Regions from separate parts of the Homo sapiens genome. Here region 2 is linked to region 1. The links are contacts of gene promoters, found by promoter capture Hi-C in human tissues and cell types (Jung and others, 2019). All regions are on one chromosome and are shown on one strand. Each heading gives the region's core, a stretch centred on a gene start or on the middle of the fragment in contact. The rest is flanking DNA. Distances are from core to core; before and after follow the strand shown.

Region 1 (6,970 bases), core at 3,088-5,587:
TGTTCCACACATAGTCCTCCTCCCATCCCCCACCACTTAGGCAAGAGCTGTGCCCAGGAAATGTCACCCGTAACTGGTCTGCACAGACCCTGTCTTCTAAAAGGGTGCTGTGCCTCCACCAGACCCCATGAGCAATACATTTGTCAAGCACACGCGAGACATGCCAAGGCCAAGGCCTGACTGATTTGACAGTAAAGACACAATGAGCCCCTCTCATTCAGAGCTTATTACTCACAGAGTGAAAATAAGAGAAGTCTGAGGTGGCAGCTCCCTGCCATCCTGGTGCCACACACTAAAAAGGACAGCACCGAAACAAAAGGGGTCAGAGGGCATGCATTGCAGGACACCCAATGCAGAGGAGCCCCTTGAGACTGCAGCTGGGTGGTGTCCTCATCTGCAGCTCTGTTGTGAGGGCCAGGGGCAGGGCAGTGAGGAACCCTCACCAGGGCCAGTGAGGCAGGCAGTGAGGAACAGTCTTGGGAGACAGAGGAAGTGACCAGTGGCCTGGGTGCAGCCTGATGTTCTGGGAGGAGCAGGCTTAGGTCAGGTGCTGTGTGCACCTCTGTGTGGCCTATGGGGATCCTGCAATGGCTCAGGGTCTCACGGCAGAGCTGTTTCTCTGCCCACACAATGGACTCACAACCTGACACACGAAAATTCACAGAGAAACACAGAAAGGCACACGTGACACTCAAAGACAGACCCACACAAAAGCCATGCAGCAAAGCCTTTTGCCACACATGCACATGCACACACACACACACAGGCTCCCATCCTTTCAAACCACAGACTTGGTGTTTGCCCAGACACACCTGTGTCAGAGAAAGGGGATCTGCAGCTCCCCAACATACACCAGTCACTCCACACTAACCCAAGGTGTCACCAGCCAGCCTGGAGGACTTGGGAAGCTAAGTGGAGGTGGACAGTGGCCACAGAGCAAAGGCCTTCAGTGGATACCACCTGATGTAAAGAGCCATGGGGTCCACCATGTGCACGCACACAAGGGGCACACATGTCTGCGCACCAGCTCCCCCATTCCTACACACATATCACCCATCCCTAGGGCTCTGGGGGATGAGACCCCTCCCTGAAGACCCACAGGAGTCCCCATGCCTGAGTGACCCACTGCTCACGTCCATGCAAAAGAAAAGAACTTTTTATCTGAGGAATGCGAGACCCCTTTAATTATCTGGCCCAGAGAGTCACTGGACTGAAACAGCAGTCACATGTCACTCCCACTTGAGCTAACGACCTCTTGAAGCCAATTGCTCTGTGGGTTCCAGACTGACACCAAGTAGACATAAAAAGCCAGACGCTGGACACCATAACTCTTCCCCTGTAGTCCAACACCTTATAGCCAGTCACTAAGGTTCTCTCTGGAAAGCAGTCAGAATTCCTGCTGACTTCATATCAGCCCACTCCTTGTCCCCTTCAGTCTTTAAAAACTTGCTTGTAATAAGGCTGAATGAAGTACTCCCAGGGCAACTTGGTGTGTCCTGGGCAGCTCTCTCAGCCTTGGTCCAGACAAACTCTCTATATGAACTGTGGTTCAGTTTGTTTCTTTAGGTCGACATCCACATTAGGGGAGCAGTGCTGCTGGGCTGGGGAAGCTGGTTCAGGTCAGATGTTGCACCAAGGGTTGGAGAAGGGGCCTTCCTGCATCAGCACCCGGACAAGGCAGAGGAGCAGGTGTCCAAACCCAGGCCTGGTCTGCTGCTGCTGTGGCTCACAGCCCCCACCCCACCTGGCAGACCTGGCAGACCCCGGAGCTGGCGACAGTGTTGCCCAGCTGGCCACAGACATATCATCACGTGGGGCTGCCCTATATGCTCCCAGTCTCCACACAGACACCCTTCATGGACTGGGGGACTGAGGGCAGGGACACTGGTGAAACAGGCAGGCATCTTCACCCAGCTACTCATCCCACTCACCACCTCCGGGGGAGGTGACAGTGACCAAGCCCAGCCCCAGCTGGCTCCTGGTCACTCACTACAGACTCAGCTCCCACAATCTCGAATCCCACCTCCAGCTCCTGCCATTCCGAGGGACCTGGAGGCCAGGGTGCCCGGCGCATGACCAGCTCTGGGTTGTGGACCGCCCTCCACGGCAGTGGCCTGAGCGCTTGTTGTCATTATTCACTTTATTCACTCCTGGTTTCTGTCTGGAAGGGATCACAAAGACATGGCTTGCAGGGGAGCCAATCCTGCCAGGGACTGAGGAAACAGATCCTGGAGAAAACCAGAGACTTTGCTGGCACTTCAGGGGGACCCCAGTTGGCTCAATGCCCCCCTCTCCCCCATAGCCAACTGCTAACCAATGTTCTCTCTGGAAACCAGTCATAATTCCTAACCTGGTCAAAGCAGGGTCATCTCACACAGCCCAGCCACCCATTCTTTAGCACCGCAGGCAGCTAAAGAATGCCTGGTGAAATGCAAGTCTGATCGTGTCTGCGTCCCCAAGCCCTTCCGTGCCCCCTGCTGCTCTTTGGACAAGCCCCCAGCAGCCTCTGTAATGCACAGCACCCGCCCTTGTCTCCTGTGCTGGCTTCCGCAGCCTGGCCACACTGGTCCTCTCGCCCATCCACCTGACCTGACTCTGGCAGGGCCTTTGCAGGAGCCATTCCTCCACCCGAACCCCTCCTATTAAAACGTGTTCCTAGCCGGTTCAGCCCCAGCCTGTAGGGACCAGCCCCACATGGTCGGTGGGTCTCTCCCCGTGTGCCGCAACGAGAGAGTGTAGAAATAAAGACACAAGACAAAGAGATAAAAGACAGCTGGGCCCGGGGGACCACTACCACCAAAGCGCGGAGACCGGTAGTGGCCCCGAATGTCTGGCTGCGCTGTTATTTATTGGATACAAAGCAAAAGGGGCAGGGTAAAGAGTGTGAGTCATCTCCAATGATAGGCAAGGTCACGTGGGTCACGTGTCCACTGGACAGGGGGCCCTTCCCTGCCTGGCAGCCGAGGCAGAGAGGGAGAGGAGACAGAGAGAAAGATAGCTTATGCCATTATTTCTGCATATCAGAGACTTTTAGTACTTTCACTAATTGACTACTGCTAGCTAGAAGGCAGAGCCAGGTGTACAGGATGACTAGGCATAATAAAGGCAGACTAGGAGCGGGACCACTGAAGCACAGCATCACAGGGAGATGGTTAGGCCTCCGGATAACTGCAGGCAAGCCTGACTCATGTCAGGCCCTCCACAAGAGGTGGAGGAGCGGAGTCTTCTCTAAACTCCCCCGGGGAAAAGGAGCCTCCCTTTCCCGGTCTGCTAAGTAGCAGGTGTTGTTCCTTGACACTTTTCACTACCGCTAGACCACGGCCCACCTGGCAACGGGCATCTTCCCAGACGCTGGCGTCACCGCTAGACCAAGGAGCCCTTCTGGTGGCCCTGTCTGGGCATAACAGAAGGCTCGCACTCTTGTCTTCTGGTCACCCCTCACTGTGTCCCCTTAGCTCCTATCTCTGTATGGCCTGGTTTTTCCTAGGTTATGATTATAGAGTGAGGATTATTATAATACTGGAATAAAGAGTAATTGCTACCAACTAATGATTATTGATATTCATATATAATCATATCTAAGATCTATATCTGGTATAACTATTCTTGTTTTATATTTTATTATACTGGAACAGCTCGTGTCCTCGGTCTCTTGCCTCAGCGCCTGGGTGGCTTGCCGCCCACACCAGCCACCAGAAGCTCCCCAGCCCCGGCCCAGCAGCTGGTCTGGGGAGCGGGGAGAGGGCAGTCTGGGCTCGCGGTTCCGGCTGGGGGCTGGGCACCCCGGGGCGACCACGGCAGGCCCAGATGGGGACTCCGGTTCCAACTCTCCTGGCCCAGAGGCTCTAGGGTGGTCTTGTCTGTCTCACTCCGGGGGCAGAGAGGACGCAGACAGACCCCAACACCACTGCTCGGCCGCGATGGTGCCTTAGACCCAGGTCCTGTGGGCTCTGGCCCGAGACCCCTCCCTCTGGGAAGGCCGGTGACCGGGACAGTCCACCTCGCAGGCGCGCCGGCGCGGAGCCCGGACCTCAGCCCGCAATGACTCAGCAAGGGCCGGTGGGATTCTACATGGTCCTGCGATATCCAGGCGACGGAGTCTCGCCTCTAAAGTGGCCCGGGGAGCAGGAAGGTATGAGCCTCAGCTGAGCGAAACCCTCCTTGCAGCCACCACGGAGGGACGGGGCGCGTCTCCTTCTGAATGACGCAAGGGGCGGGGCGCGTGGTGGGGCGGGGAAGGCGCGAGGCGCGCCGCGATCGGGGACTGTCCTAAGACGGGCGGGGCGCGCTGCGCTAGGGACTGTCATAAAAGGGGCGGGACGCGCCGCGGTCGGGATGACGTGAGCTGGGGGCGCTCGTCGCTGCAGCCGGCGGCTAGCGGGCGTCCGCGCCATGGAGCGCTACGCGGGCGCCTTGGAGGAGGTGGCGGACGGTGCCCGGCAGCAGGAGCGACACTACCAGCTGCTGTCGGCGTTACAGAGCCTGGTGAAGGAGTTGCCCAGGTACGCGGGCGGGGCGGGCGGCGGCCTGCCGAGGCCGCATCGTGTCCCGCCGGGGCTCACCGCGCTCCTCTACCCCGCAGCTCATTCCAGCAGCGCTTGTCCTACACCACGCTGAGCGACCTGGCCCTGGCGCTTCTCGACGGCACCGTGTTCGAAATCGTGCAGGGGCTACTGGAGATCCAGCACCTCACCGAAAAGAGCCTGTACAACCAGCGCCTGCGCCTACAGAACGAGCATCGAGGTGCGCGGGGGCAGCGGGAGGAGGTGCCGCCTCCTCGGGGTCGGCGCCTCCCGGCAGCTCTTGGTATCTGTGCAGCTCGGCTCCTTCCTTGGGAGTGTTCGGAAGAGGTCCCTAAGATTAACAAAATCAAGGGCGCAGAGACTGAGACAGCGCCTTTTTGGTGACCAATGTGTCCAACGAGTTTTGTTTTCAGTTGCGCAGCACCCACCTTCTTAGCAGAAACTCCCTGTTCGGGCTTCCCTGTGCCCCACCCCCTTCCAGGCCTGATGGCCCTAGGCCTCCGTGCTTGGTTGGCCGGCAGGCTGACTCTGGTGGTAGATCTGACTGCGTTGCCCTCCGGTAATTGGAGTTCTGTTGACAGGTGAGCAGCGCCCTTGGGTAGTTGGAGGTCTGTTGACAGCTGTGCGCGCCCTTCAGGGTCAGTTCCCTCTCAGGCCTGCAGGGCCTCATTCTAGTTGCACATCAAATTCCTAAGCACTGTCTCCTGTGGCGCCCTCCCAAACCAGAAGAGCTTCCCACTTGAGCCGCATGCTTCCTGGGCTTCGGAGCCCTTTCCTGCAAATTATATAGGGCAGGTCCCCCTGCACCATCAGATTTCCACCTTTGCTGTTTTATTTTTCCCAAACTTCTTATTTTAAAAGTTCAAACATTTGGAAAAACTGAAAAGACAGTGTAGTGCATACGCTTGTGCTCTCCACCGAAAGTTCAGTAGTTAACATTTTGCTCTAGTTCTTGACATCCCAAAATACATACATGTGACAGCATAGAATTCACCAAGAGTCTTCAGCATTCCTGGAGACCAGGATTTTCAACCCAGCCATGCTGACATTTGTGGCTGGGTAAGTCTTTATGGTGAGATGCTGTCTTGCGCATTGCAGGATGGCAGGGGTACCCTCCCTAGTCGTGAAAACCAAGAATGCCTCCAGACAACCTGGGTGGTGGGGTCAACCTTGGCCTTGGATTGGGAGCAAGTGCTCTAGAACAAGAGCGGTCTCCTACACAGCTGCAGAGGGTAGCCCCCTGAGAAATTAACTGTTCCAGGTGTCTCCTGACTTTCAGTGCATGGCCACATCATGGTACCTAACTTGTGGCAAATTGTTGCTTTATAAGTAAGGATCCAGTCCAAGTTCATGTACTACAATTGGTTACTTTGGTCTCTTTGCTTCTGGAACAGTCCCCAACATTTATTGTGGCATTGACTTTTTATAGAGTCTAATTCTATAATTAGAATGCCCTGCTCTGGATCTATCAGAGGAAATGCTTCCTCGTGCATTTAACCTGCTTCTCCACTCTCTGGGTTTACTGTACACTGGACTCCTGGTAGGAGCCTGATTAGAGGCAGGTTTAATGTGGCAAAAATTCCTCCTAGCGGGGCAAGGCCCCCTTCCCCAGAAGGCAGGCAGTGTCCATCTGCTCCAGGATTGGTGTGTTTCTATCAAGAATGGATGTTGGATTTTGGCAGTTTCCTTTTTGGCAGCTCTTGAGATGATCACGTGGTGAATCATTTTCTATTACTACAGTGAATTACAGTCACTTGAATTCCATCCTACTGGGTCGTGCTGTAGTATCCTTTTTATGTATGCTGGATTTGATTTGCTAAAATCTTGTTAAGAATTTTTTTGTCTATGTTCATGATAAACTGTGGTCTATAGTTTTCATGTAATACCTGGTTTGGGTATCAGGGTTTTTGCCAGCCTTATAGGATGAGTTTCGAAGTGTTCTCTCCTCTTCAGTTTTCCAGAAGAGTTTGTGTAGAATTGGCATTACTTCTTCCCCTAAATGTCTGGGTGACTGTCTTTTTAAAAATTTTATTGAGCTGTAAGATGCATGCAGTTTACTAATCCCAAGTGCATGGCTCATTATTCCTTAATGCTCAGACTGTGCCATGTGTGGCCAGTTGGGGGCGCTCCAGGCACCTTTAGATGCCGCCCCATCATTCTGTGAGCACTTTCTTGCTTTCTGGTTCAGGTATGTGTTCAGGCTCATCTTTTCTTGTTTTCTCCGTGTCTCAGTCCTGGAATCGGCCATTTTTCCACAGAGTTGTAGTTCTTTCTAGCAGGATGGGGAGTTTCAGTAACTGCCTGGGCCCAATGCTGTTTGTGCTTCAGAAGGTTTGGGCCAGGTCCTGGTTCCACCAGCAGCAGGCATGCCTGCGTTGACTTTCTGCTTCTCCTGCTGATTTGGCAGGGGTGACTGGCTGCTCCTGCCTCCTTTGTGTTCCCGGTCG
Region 2 (6,815 bases), core at 2,132-4,631, 1.0 Mb after region 1:
TTCAGGGGCTGCATCGCCCACCCACTCCAAGCCTGGGACAGTTCAGGTCTTCCTACTCTAAAAGGAGAAACTGCAGGGCCCACAGTCCCAGCTACTAGGGAGGCTGAGGCTGGAGGGTGAGTTGAACCCAGGAGTTCAAGGCTGCAGTGAGCTATGATAGCACCACTGCACTCCAGCCTGGTTAACAGAGTGAGACTCTGTCTCAGAAAAAAAAAAAAAAAAAAACTGCACCCCTAGTCTGGGTACAGTGGCTCACACCTGTGTTGCAGGAAGTCAGGAACCCCGAATGGAGGGACTGGCTGGAGCCGTGGCAGAGGAACATAAATAGTGAAGATTTCATTTCAATATGAACATTTATCAATTCCCAAGTAATACTTTTATACTTTTTTCTTTTTTTTTTTTTTGAGGCAGATTCTCTCTCTGTCGCCCAGGCTGGGGTGCAGTGGCACAATCTCAGCTCACTGCAAGCTCCGCCTCCTGGGTTCACACCATTCTCCTGTCTCAGCCTCCTGAGTAGCTGGGACTACAGGCACCCGCCACCACACCTGGCTAATTTTTTGTACTTTCAGGAGAGACAGGGTTTCACCATGTTAGCCAGGATGGTCTTGATCTCCTCACCTTGTGATATGGCTGCCTCGGCCTCTCAAAGTGCTAGGATTACAGGCATGAGCCACCGCGCCTGGGCCCCCAAGTAATACTTTTATAATTTCTTATGCCTGTCTTTATCTCTTAATCCTGTTATCTTCATAAGCTGATAATATACATCACCTCAGGACCACTGTGATAATTGTGTTAACTGTAGAAATTGATTGTAAAACGTGTGTTTGAACAATATGAAATCAGCGCACCTTGAAAAAGAACAGAATAACAGTGATTTTTAGGGAACGAAGACAACCATAAGGTCTGACTGCCTGTGGGGTCAGGCAAAAAGAGCCATATTTTTCTTCTTGCAGAGAGCTTATAAATGGACGTGCAAGTAGGAGAGATATCGCTAAATTCTTTTCCTAGCAAGGAATATTACTATTAAGACCCTGGAAAAGGAATGCATTCCTGGGGGGAGGTCTGTAAACGGCCACTCTGGGAGTGTCTGTCTTATGCGGTTGAGATAAGGACTGAAATACGCCCTGGTCTCCTGCAGTACCCTCAGGCTTATTAGGGTGGGGAAAAAACTCCGTCCTGGTAAATTTGTGGTCAGACTGGTTCTCTGCTCTTAAACCATGTTTTCCGTTGTTTAAGATGTTTATCAAGACAATATGTGCACAGCTGAACATAGACCCTTATCAGGAGTTCTGATTTTGCCCTTGTCCTGTTTCCTCAGAAGCATGTGATCTTTGCTCTGCCTTTTGCCCTTTGAAGCATGTGATCTTTGTGACCTACTCCCTATTGGCACAACCCCTCCCCTTTTAAAATCCTTAATAAAAACTTGCTGGTTTTGCGGCTCAGGTGGGCATCATGGTCCTACCGATACGTGATGTCACCCCCAGCAGCCCAGCTGTAAAATTCCTCTTTGTACTCTTTCTCTTCATTTCTCAGCCGGCTGACACTTACAGAAAATAGAAAGAACGTACGTTGAAATATTAGGGGCAGGTTCCCCCAATATCTGGCGCCCAACGTGGTTTTCTTTTTCCTAAGTGCATGTGGGAACCCGATTCCCTTTGGTAGGTGCGGAGAAATGTTCATCGGTCCAGTCCACAGAAATGCTTGTTTGGCTCCCCAACGATTGGTGAGTTGTCTGTGTATTCTCCGGGGTAACTATGGGTCACGCAGAGTCTAAACATTATGCTTATCTCTGCTATATTAAATTCCTGTTAAAATGGGGGAGTTCGGGTTCCCATGGAAAATATGGTCACCCTATTCAGGGCAGTGGAAGAACACTGTCCTTGGTTTCCTGAAAAGGGAACGTTAGATGTGGAACTATGGGATCATGTTGGTGCAAAATTCCGAGAACTGGTCCCAACAGGAAATTATGTTCCTGTCACTGTTTGGGGTGATTGGGCCTTGGTACGTGCCATCCTAATGACATACCAATCCCGTGACACCCTGCAGTTACCACAGTTTTCTGAATCTGGCCACCCTCTACCTCTTCCTCAGCTTTCCTCTCCCACTCGGCCTTCATTATCTGCTCAGCCCCTCCCTTTGCCTACTCCTCCCCCACCTGACGATACTGAGGATTCAATATCTAACTCCAGTGACTTTGGCTTAACATCACCCCCTGATGATCTTATTTCTTTTCACGAAGAGCCGACACTTGTAGCTCCTGCGGCCCCAACTCAGACAGCCCAGGACCATATCTATGCTAACTCTTCCCTCTCCAAACCTTTACAGTCTTTGCCTCCGGAGCCATCCAAACTACAATTTACCTGTAATTCTGCAGGCCCTCCCCCATCCACCACAGCCCCTCACCCTCCTATCATTTTGGTCCCTCAACCGGTCACTTTGCCATCCACTCAACCTGCTTCTCTGTACCCTTCTTCATGCAGGGACACCCCTGCCACTCTGGTTGTGCAGGACTGGGCCAGTAATCACCAGTATGCTTCTGCCTCTTCTGCTCCCCCAATGCCCCTTTCTCACACTCTTATACCAGTCCGACCCCGTCAATCTCAGTTTCTCTTATCTATACATACTTTTCCTGTCACTTCTATGCCGACTCTATCTCATGTGCCTGCTCTTGAAACTTTCATGCAATGCTTATTACGCCAAAACAAACAAGTAGATTAGAGGCGTGGGCTTATTCGGTCATGCTGGAACCTCCTAATGCTCAAGGGGTACAAGTGTGTCGATATACGCCGCTCAATCTTACCTTTTTAAAAGAATTCAAGGATGCTTGTACTCAGTATGTTCCTACTTCTCCATATGTTAAAACGGTATTACAGACTCTTTGTACCGAGGTCATTTTGCTTCCTATAGACTGCGACCTTTTGGCAAAAGCTGTTCTAACTCCATCTCAGCATTTACAATTCCATACCTGGTGGTCAGAGGAGGCCCGCCTGCAGGCTCAGCTAAATCGGGCTGATGGCATTCCAATTACTCAGGCTCAGCTCACAGGCTCCGATAATTACTCTGATACTACTGCTCATTTAGGCTTTGATGCTCTCACCACGGAACAAGTAACAAAGGTGTGTATGAGAGCTTGGGATAAATTACGCACCCCAGGCCAAGCTTCTGTTTCTTTTACTATTGTTAAACAGGGTCACAATGAATTATATCTTGATTTTTTAGCTAAATTACAAGATGCTGTTGAAAAATCTGTCTCTGATGAGCACACTCAAGGTATTCTTCTTCATATGTTAGCTTTTCAAAATGCGAACCATGAGTGTAAAATGGCCGTGCATTCCATCCTACGTCAAAATTTACCTGATCATGAGGTGTTGCCTGCATATATTAAAGCTTGTGAAGGCGTTGGATCGGAGACCCACAGAGCTATTCTGTGGGCACCGGCCATGAAGCACGGCAACCAAACTGGCTCGACTGATTCTTTTCTTGGAGCCTGCTATAATTGTGGCCAACTTGGTCATACCCAAAAAAACTACACTGTTAAAAACTTAAAAGCGGCCAAGCCGGCTCAACAAACACGGCCAAATGCTCCTGCTACTGTTTGCCTGCGTTGTCGTAAGGGTAAACATTGGGCAAGTACTTGCCACTCAGTCTGATATAGATGAAAATCCCTTGCCACAGAACCAGGGAAACAGGAAGCAAGGCCAGTCCCAGGCCCCAATATCAAATGGGACACCTCGGACTCAGACCAATGTTGTGTTTTTGCGTCAAGCAGTCCCAACGCAGCCCCCAGCACAAACAAATTTACCTACAGCCAATCCAGATGGGTCCCAGCCTCTTCTTCTGTCTCAGTACAATGCTTGTCTACCTCCACAGTAGGCAGCAGGGCGGTCGATCTCTGTAGTACCATTCCTCTAAATTTACTACCTAATTCTTTGCCTTTAATTGTCCCCATGGGGGTCACTGGCCCTTTACCTCAAGGTTCGGTGGGCCTGGTGTTAGGCAGGGCATCCACCTCATGATACTAAAGGTATCATAGTTCATACTAGTCTCATTAATTCTGATTCCTCTGATGAGATTAAACTTATGTAAACTTATGGTGTCTGCCAAAGTTCCTGTTTCCATTCCGGCCAGTGAGTCAATTGCTCAATTACTTTTACTACCTAACATTGTTTTAAACAAAGGAGATAAGACATGGGGCCCTGGGATGGGCTCCAGCGGTGAAAAAGCCGCTTATTGGATTAATGTAATTTCTAAACAATGGCCTACCTGCACCATACACATTCAAGGAAAAAAGGTTGAGGGCCTAGTTGATACTGGGGCTGATGTTTCTATTATTTCCTCTAATTTATGGCCTTCCTCCTGGCTTAAACATCCCACTAACATGAAACTAGAAGGTGTTAGAAAAGCTGAAGAAGTTCACCAGAGCACATTTATCTTGGCTTGCACTGGCCCTGATGGTCAAAAGGGAACAATTCAGCCTTATATCATGCCCATCCCCATTAATCTTCGGGGCAGAGATTTGCTGGCACAAATTGGGGCTGAAATTAATATTCCACATAACTTTTACAGTGCTCCCAGTCAACATATAATGGAAAACATGGGGTTTGTTTCCAGACTCGGTCTCGGTCCAAAACGTGAAAAAATTACTAAACCTCTTCAAGTTACTGTAAAAGAAGACAAGGCTGGTTTAAAAGCATAATTTAACTACTCCCCACTCCCAATTATATTTAGCATTGTTTAAGCTTTCTAAATGTTCCTAAAAACAATACTCTGACTGCAGCTAAATGCCATTATACAGGCAAAAAATTCTCCCTAAACGAAGGCAAGCCAGTGTCATGGAAAAACTCCCAAACCAATACCTGGGAACCTGGAACAATTATAACGTGGGGAAGAGGGTATGCTTGTGTTTTACCAGGAGATCGTCAATCCCGTCTGGGTGCCCACTAGGAGACTTAAACTTCGTGTGAATACTGACAATAAAAACCACGAGGAAGAGACGTTCGCGTCAGAGACTGCCCTCATACCTGATGAGATCTGTACCGACTCCTCAGAAACTGGCATGCCAAATCAAAATGGGTCTGGTTCAATCCTCCCTAATGGCAATGTAAACCCCTCTAACTAATCCCACTTCTCCTAATTATCTTTTTCTCCTTACGAACCTAAAAATCTCACCATTTCTATTAGCCTGAAAATAACATCCCTCTGTTCTTCTCTTCCTCCTTCAGCACTGGATCTCACTTACAATAGGTTTTATTTAATAATTATCTTCCTTACACTTTCTGTCTCACCAGTTTCCCCTTAAACTGATTTACCTGCTACACAAAATTATTCTTATTGGGCTTATGTGCCTTTTCCTCCACTTATTCGACCTCTCACCTGGATGGATGCTCCTGCAGAAATCTATACTAACGATAGTGTGTGGATGCCTGGAACTACAGATGACCGTTGCACCGCTCAGCCAGGAGAAGGCACTGCATTTAATGTTACTATGGGTTATAAATACCCTCCTCTGTGCCTTGGACATGCACCTGGTTGTATCCATCTAGAAGCTCAAGTCTGGGCTGCTTGTCTTCCAGAGAGATTAGCTATAGGGAAATGGGGACATTTGGTCTCTGGCCTCTCCCTTTCTCCTTTAAGACAAATAAAAAGAGGAGTAATAGGAGATACCCCATACTTTCAATATAAACCTGTAGGAAAACCATATCCTAAAAATTTTGAGGGCCCATCTAAAACTTCAATTTGGGAATGATTGTGTTAACTCACATGCAGTAGTATTAAAAAATGACTCGGCTGGGCGCAGTGGCTCATGCCTGTAATCCCAGCACTTTGGGAGGCCAAGGCAGGTGGATCATGAGGTCAGGAGATTGAGACCATCCTGGCTAATACAGTGAAATCCCGTCTCTACTAAAAATACAAAAAAAATTAGCCAGGCGTGGTGGCAGATGCCTGTAGTCCCAGCTACTCGGGAGGCTGAGGCAGGAGAATGGCGTGAACCCGGGAGGCGGAGCTTGCAGTGAGCTGAGATCGCACCACTGTACTCCAGCTTGGGCGACAGAGCAAGACACTGTCTCAAAAAAAAAAAAAAAAAAAAAACCCCAAAAAAACAACTCATATGGTTTAGTAACAGACTGGGCACGAAAGGGCTATTTAAAAAACAGTTGCTCCTCTGGCGGAAAGGAATGCCTGGAGACTACTTATTTTATTTCTTACTGGGAGGACCAGGATCATCATCCTATTTTGCATAGAAGGTTCAGTTTGTTCTTTCCCTTAAAATAGGAAGATAAGGGCATTATCCCCCTAAGTCTCGTATGATATTCCCCATTCTGAGTCCAGAATACCTAGAAATTTGGAATTTGGCTATTGCCGTGTCTGGACTGTGAGTATGGGAAGGGGAAGCTTTTCTGTCTGTTGTCCCCACTACCGCCCCTCACATCCGTGATTCTGAACCCCATGATAAATGCCCTTTGAACCTTTTTCCTCCTTTTGATGCCGAATCCCCTTTTATGGGACTCCGCCAGCACGGGTGCATTTAACCTTCCTGAGCTTGCCCACCTGACGCATGCAGCCAAGAAGCTTTGAAAGATGGAGTGCCCTGGCTGAGGGTTCCAGGTCTCAGCAAGGCCACGAGGTGGTGACTGCCTCCCAGAACTCTGTTGGGCCACCCTCCGTCCTGGAGACCCCCAAAACCTCCATAGCACCAACTCTGCCCATTCACACACACAGTCAGCCCTCCCTCCCGAGTCCACCGCGGGCAGAGGGCCAGCCACCATGCCTCCCATAGCCGCCATCCCTGGGAAGGAGCCCTGACCCCGTCCTTA

What was found. Contacts are between HindIII fragments. The study calls those that stand out against the background at their distance.
Region 2: a contact is called between a fragment that was not itself captured here and the fragment with the promoter of DGCR6 in region 1, in 1 of the 25 tissues and cell types used here (dorsolateral prefrontal cortex).

What each region holds. Positions count from the first base shown.
Region 1 is chr22:18,901,983-18,908,952 of GRCh38, forward strand. DGCR6 (DiGeorge syndrome critical region gene 6) reads left to right here and starts at 4,338. Exons shown (of 5, transcript NM_005675.6): 1 at 4,338-4,502; 2 at 4,583-4,743. The coding sequence starts at 4,393. RefSeq lists enhancers at 1,432-2,291, 2,292-3,149, 3,267-3,805, 3,806-4,343, 4,344-4,881 and 1 more and a silencer at 2,735-2,918. The HindIII fragment of the contact is 41,571 bases long and covers 1-6,970 here.
Region 2 is chr22:19,934,177-19,940,991 of GRCh38, forward strand. All of the region lies in intron 1 of TXNRD2 (thioredoxin reductase 2), which reads right to left. LOC124905081 (endogenous retrovirus group K member 24 Gag polyprotein-like) reads left to right here. Exons shown (of 2, transcript XM_047441689.1): 2 at 1,663-3,813. The coding sequence starts at 2,685. The coding sequence ends at 3,650. Among named protein-coding and RNA genes, the nearest start is that of COMT, 4.2 kb to the right of the region's middle. RefSeq lists enhancers at 6,220-6,790, 6,791-6,815. The HindIII fragment of the contact is 4,369 bases long and covers 1,198-5,566 here.